Regions from separate parts of the Homo sapiens genome. Here region 1 is linked to region 2. The links are contacts of gene promoters, found by promoter capture Hi-C in human tissues and cell types (Jung and others, 2019). All regions are on one chromosome and are shown on one strand. The core of a region is centred on a gene start or on the middle of the fragment in contact, and the rest is flanking DNA. Distances in the headings are between cores, read along the strand shown. Region 1 has its middle 43 kb from the start of GPR83. Region 2 holds the start of GPR83 (G protein-coupled receptor 83).

Region 1 (3,272 bases), core at 29-2,528, 43 kb after region 2:
GAGCTCTGATTTTCAGAATTTTCAACTTTTCTGCTCTGCTTTCTCCCCATCTTTGTGGTTTTATCTACCTTTCATCTTTGATGATGGTGACCTACAGATGGGGTTTTGGTGTGGATGTCCTTTTTGTTGCTGTGATGTTATTCCTCTCTGTTTGTTAGTTTTCCTTCTAACACTCAGGACCCTCAGCTGCAGGTCTCTTGGAGTTTGCTAGAGGTCCACTCCAGACCCTGTTTGCCTGGGTATCACCAGCAGGGGCTGCAGAACAGTGAATACTGCAGAACAGCAAGTGTTGCTTTCTGATCCTTCCTCTGGAAACTTCGTCTCAGAGGGGCATCCAGCTGTATGAGGTGTCAGTCGGCCCCTACTGGGAGGTGTCTCCCAGTTAGGCTACTTGGGGGTCTGGGACCCACTTGAGGAGGCAGTCTCTCCGTTATCAGGTCTCAAACTCCATGCTGGGAGAATCACTACTCTCTTCAAAGCTGTCAGACAGGGATGTTTAAGTCTGCAGAAGTTTCTGCTGCCTTTTCTTCAGCTATGCCCTGTCCCTAGATGTGGAGTCTACAGAGGCAGGCAGGCATCCTTGAGCTGTGGTTGGCTCCACCCAGTTCGAGCTTCCTGTCACTTTGTTTACCTAGTCAAGTCTCAGCAATGGCGGATGCCCCTCTCCCAGCCTCCTTGTTGCCTTGCAGTTGGATCTCAGACTGCTGTGGTAGCAGTGAGCAAGGGTCTGTCGTCATGGGACTCTCCAAGCCAGGTGCGGGATATAATCTCCTGGTGTGCCATTTGCTAAGACCATTGGAAAAGTGCAGTATTAGGGTGGGAGTGTCCCGATTTTCTGGGTAATGTCTGTCATGGCTTCCCTTAGCTAGGAAAGGGAATTCCCTGACCCCTTGTGCCTCCCAGGTGAGGTGATGCCCCACCCTGTTTCAGCTCCCACTCTGTGGGCTGCATCCACTGTCCAACAAGTCCCAGTGAGATGAACCTTGTACCTCAGTTGGAAATGCAGAATTCACCCATCTTCTGTGTCACTCATGCTGGGAGCTGTAGACTGGAGCTGTTCCTATTTGGCCATCTTGGAGGGAATCCTGACTTTTGTATTTTTTGTAAAGATGAGGTCTTGCCATTTTGCCCAGGCTGGTCTCTAACTCCTGGCCTCAAGTGACTCACTACCTGCTTCAGCTTCCTAAAGTGCTGGGATTACAGGCGTGAGCTACTGTCCCTGGCCCAAATGACTGTTTTCTTATATTCCTAGTGTGACTGCATATTCCTTTTTGAAATATGTCTGCTTTTTTCTCTTAATAGTCTCTCCTTGTATTGTGAACGCTATTCCTTCTTTTTATGTCTTTGAACAGGTAAGTCATTTGCTAAGTCCTTCAGAGATTGAACTATTTTCTATGATTTCTTGACCTCAAATTTTCCAGTTTGTTGTAACTGTTAACTCTCATTTATGAAGGTGAATTTCCATGTGTGTTTTGTAATTTTTGCCTATGAGCTCATATTTGGCAAGAATTGTTTTTTATAGAAGTACTGTGGAAGTGCTATGTTTGCACAGGTATTATGATGAATAAGTTGACATTTGCCTCTGTCAGGGGCCCTGAATTTTAGATGAATTGTTTTGTGATTTCATCAAGCTTTATTTTTTGACTGCATCGTAATTTAAAAATTTGTTCATTCTGTAATCTTTTCCCATACCTAGATGAAGGTGGACAGACTATATGACTTTTAAAAATAAGCTTCTATCTTTTAAAATAGTTTTATACATACAGAAAATTTGCAAAGGCAGTACAGAGAGTTCCCTATATCCCATATCTAATTTTTCTTATTATAAATATCTAACATTGGTATGACATATTTGTCAAAATATTGAACCAATACTGACACATTACTATTAACTAAAGTCCATGCTTTATTCAGATTTCCTTAGGTTTTACCTAAGGTACTTTTCCTGTTTCAGGATTCCCTCCAGTCCATCACATTTCATTTTATCTTATTTTATTTCATTTCATTTCATTATATTTCAATCTTCATGTATCCTTAAGCTCCTCTCAGCTGTGATAGTTTCTCCGCCTCTCCTTGCTTTTGATGACCTCAACAGTCTGAAGGTGTACTGGTCAGACATTTTGAAGACCGTCCTTCAACTGAGATTTGTGTGATTTTTTTCTCATGATTAGGTGGGGTTTTGGATTTTTGGGGGATAAAGACCACAGAAGTAAAGTGCTATTTTTATCACATTATATCAAAACATGAATTGTCACTACTGATGTTAAAATCTGGCCAAGTTACTGTTTCTCAGGTTTTTCCACCATGTGTTAGAGTTCTTCAGAAGGACAGAACCTATAGGATATATGCATATATAAAAGGGAATTTATTAGGGAGAATTGGCTCACACAGTTACAAAATGAAATCCCATGATACGCCATCTGCATGGGGAAAGAAAGAAGCTGGTAGTGGCTCAGTCCAATTATGAAAACCTCACACCCAGGAAAGCCGACAGTGCAGCCTTCAGTCTGTGGCCAAAAGCTAGAGAGACCCCAGGAAGCCACTGGTGCAAGTCCCAGAGTCCAAAGGTTGAAAAATCTGGAGTCTGATGTCTAAGAAGAGCAGAAGCAAGTGTCCAGCTCAAGAAGAAGAAAGAGAGCCAGAAGCCTCAGGAAGCAAACTTATCCCACCTTTTTCCACCTGCTTTATTCTAGCTGTGCTTGCAGCTGATTGGATGGTGCCCACCCTCATTGAGGATGGGTCTTCCTTTCCCAGTCCACTGACTAAAATGTCAGTCTCCCCTGGAAACACTCTCCCAAGCATACCCGAGATAATACTTTACCAGCCATCTAGCCTCCCCTCAATCAAGCTGACACCGAATATTAACCATCACACATTGTATAGTTACTCTCCCTACCAACTCCAGTTTTCATACTGTACTCTTTGGAAGGAAGTCACTATGTGCAGCCTACACTTAAGGAGTGGAGTTATGCTCCACCTTCTTGAAGGTGAAGTAGCTACATAAATTATTTGGAATTCTACTACACAGCAGATTTGTCTCTTCTCCCATTTATTTATTCAATCATTTTTTATATCAGTATAGATTCGTGGATATATATCTGTGGGTTATAATTCAATACTACTTAATTTTGCTAATTTTGTTCCAGTTTTGGCTGTGAGGAGCTCCTTTAGTTAGCTCCTGTATCTGTTGACATGCTTCCATCAATGTGGGTTTTGTTTTTTGTTTTGGGGAGTTTTTCAGTACTTTCTTGAGCTATGGGATGCTCCAGGCT
Region 2 (3,310 bases), core at 232-2,731:
CCGCCTCGACCTCCCAAAGTGCTGGGATTGCAGGCGTGAGCCACCGCGCCCGGCCCCCAAGCTTTCAGTGTTTACAGGCAGTCTCTTGGTTTATTTCCTGGAGCTAAAGATGTATTATTTCATCGGCCTAGCACCTTGTCCCTTCTAGGATCTGTCACATAATCCCCTATTTCAGCCATTTAATCCTGTGAGACCTGCCAGGTCCTTCAGTATAATTGAGGGTTATCTGCTAGCCATCCTTTCCTCCAGACACAGTTGCTTGAAGAGTACATGTGAAGTGGAAAACTGGAGACAAGAGTAATACCTAGGTTTGAGTCATTGTTTGGGTCCCAGCCCAAGGACATTGCTCCCCAGGGCACGTTGACACAATGTAAAGAATCTACATGGTGTTTCCTGTTGGGGGTCAGGGGTGGTTACCAGTAGTCAACCAGATATTGCATGTCTTGCACCAGAGGGCAATGCAGTGAGAGATGTATACAGGGGTCTCTGAAAACCTCACATTTAGGAAAAGAAAGCCTTTTAACCAAGGCCAAAAATGTTAAATGGCTTGCCCAAGATTTCACAGCTAGGAAGTGACAAAGCTGGGATTAAACCCTAATTACAGAGCCCATGGTCTTTACTACAGGCTTGTGGGTGGCAGAGGACCCAGTGACTGGGAGAGTTTTCACAGTGGAAGTGAAAACGGGTGAGCAGGATAGCAAGGTTTCCTGAAGAAGTAGATGGGGAAGGAAAAACAGCATGGGTCATAATATCCCTTAAAGATATAGCTTCAAGGACTTCCATGGCAGAAAAATTCAAGTTACCCAAGAGGTGAGCACACAGCTAAACTTCTCTTTTCCTTCGCTTCTTTGATGGTATCCGAACTGCTTTGAAGAGTTTCCTTGAAAAACAAAGCTCCCCAGATTGCATTCCTGGGGGCTGTCAAAGAAACTGTAATCCTTTAATAAGCCCTCCAGCACCTCTGGTATCTGGATACTCCGGGGACTTGGAGAATCCTTAACGTCTCTATTTTTTGGTTTGCCTTTTTCCTGGGACCGCCGGGACGCAGCGATCCATTTCGATATTGAAACTGTGCCAAGGCTAAGGCTTAGGTGGAAACAAATGGAATATATCCTTGTCACTGACCCGGCTTTGCCAGCATGCCCCCTCATCATCCCAAGTGCCCCTGTGGGCTTCCTCCCACCTGCCTGCCCTGCTTCCTTTACAAGAGGCTAAGCCGACACCACGCGAGTGTGTACGCGCTGGGGACTGAGCCCCCGAAGCGAAGCCCTGTCGGAGGAGTTTCAGGCGGGAGTGGGAACGGCTGGGCGTGGGGTCAGCAACGGCGCCACCCGGTAGGGTGGGGGGAGCCAGGCTTGTCAGAGCCAGAGCGCGTCACCGTCGCCGCGAGAGACGCCGCGCTGCCCAATAGGCAGAGGCGCTCCCTAGCAGCCTGGTGGGAGCAGAGATATAAAAGTGCTCCAACAAACCCGGAGCTGGCGTGCCGACCGCGGGCTGGTGGCGGGCGGCGCGGTGCTCCGCGCGTCCGGGCTCCCTGGCTCCTCGGGACGGCCTTGTATGCTGTGCGCCCCGCACCCCGGCTGCGCGCTCCGATCCCAGCGGGAGGGGACGCCCGGCCCGCAGGCTCCCAGGGGAGGGGTGGCTCCTGCAAAATGGTCCCTCACCTCTTGCTGCTCTGTCTCCTCCCCTTGGTGCGAGCCACCGAGCCCCACGAGGGCCGGGCCGACGAGCAGAGCGCGGAGGCGGCCCTGGCCGTGCCCAATGCCTCGCACTTCTTCTCTTGGAACAACTACACCTTCTCCGACTGGCAGAACTTTGTGGGCAGGAGGCGCTACGGCGCTGAGTCCCAGAACCCCACGGTGAAAGCCCTGCTCATTGTGGCTTACTCCTTCATCATTGTCTTCTCACTCTTTGGCAACGTCCTGGTCTGTCATGTCATCTTCAAGAACCAGCGAATGCACTCGGCCACCAGCCTCTTCATCGTCAACCTGGCAGTTGCCGACATAATGATCACGCTGCTCAACACCCCCTTCACTTTGGTAAGGGGCCCGCTGCCTGCCGCCCCACCTTCTGTCTTCGTCTCCCTTTCCTCTCTCAGTTCTCTGGCCTCCCTCTGCCGTTCTGCGTCTCCCTGTGGGTCCCCACTTCTCTCTCCACATCTCTCTTCCTCCTCATTTCTCCTCTCCTCTGCCTCTGTCTTCCTGTCCTAGTCTCTTTTCTCCCTCCTCTGTCATCTCGGTTCTTGTATCTCTCCTGTTTTTCTTAGTCTTTCTTTCAGTCTCTGTCTCTCTCTCTGAAGTCTTTCTGTCTCTCTTCTCTATCTCTCAGTGTCCTCATCTTTTTTTTTTTTTTTGTCTTTCAGCCTCCCTATTCATCTGTCTCTGTCTCCTCACCTGTTATCTCTTTTTCTTCTTGTCAGTCTCTCTGTGATTTTATTTTTCTATTCTCTCTCCTCTCCTCTCCTCTCCCCACCTCTCCTCTCTTCCTCTCTCCCCTGCCTCACTCTCTGATTTCTCCCCACTTTTTTCTGTCTCATCGCCTTATCAGCCAGAGCTTCTGCGGCGGTGGCATTGGGTCAATGGTTTGAGTGTCTGCAGCCAGCTGGAAATGAATGACCATTTCCTGTTTAATCTCACTGGGTCTGGGCTTGCTTGATAATTGAGCAGTAAATCAATGCCCCTGAAATGTCAGCAGAGATGATCAGGTCCCCCTCCCTCTGAATTGCAGCCTGTTCAGTGCCCAGCCGTACCCATGGGATACTGCTTTGTGCTACAACTGAAATATCAAACAATTGCTAATTGTTAATGGAACATTAAGTGCATTTTCCCAGACCACTTATTTAAAGTGCATTTCCCTTCTGTGGGTTGATAATGAGGCTGTGTTTGAGGTCTGTGTTGAGGAAGAAATGAGGGGAGGTGGGCTTGGGCCCCAGAAATCGGGCAGGCTGGGGGCATTTGCACATTGGCAGCTGATGGGATTCTTCCCCAAGCCCTGGCTACTTAGCGCTGGTGGTGTCCCGCTGTGACCGGGGAGTGTGGCTCTCATGGATGATTTGGGACTGTAAGGGCGATGACTGAGCAACCATAGTGACAGTTATACTGCATGTTTCTCTAGTGTGTTATATTTTTTCATTTTATGGAATAACTTTGTCATTTGAGTGATTACTAAAGCAATATCTATTAATCCCTCTCTGTCTGTCTCCTTGCCATCTCTCATACACAACCAGATATAACAGACAAGCAAAAAACACAGGATGAACCCCCACAAGTCCATCACCTGTGTGAACATCCTTCCAAATCTTATATTGAAA

What was found. The method cuts DNA at HindIII sites, captures the fragments that hold promoters and counts their contacts. A contact is called where the count stands out against the background at its distance.
Region 1: a fragment that was not itself captured here is called in contact with the fragment with the promoter of GPR83 in region 2 in 1 of the 25 tissues and cell types used here (H1 embryonic stem cells).

What each region holds. Positions count from the first base shown.
Region 1 is chr11:94,356,535-94,359,806 of GRCh38, reverse strand. No RefSeq gene overlaps it. Among named protein-coding and RNA genes, the nearest start is that of GPR83, 43 kb to the left of the region's middle. The HindIII fragment of the contact is 3,129 bases long and covers 1-2,842 here.
Region 2 is chr11:94,399,590-94,402,899 of GRCh38, reverse strand. It overlaps GPR83 (G protein-coupled receptor 83), which reads left to right and starts at 1,481. Exons shown (of 4, transcript NM_016540.4): 1 at 1,481-2,039. The coding sequence starts at 1,653. The HindIII fragment of the contact is 20,224 bases long and covers 1-3,310 here.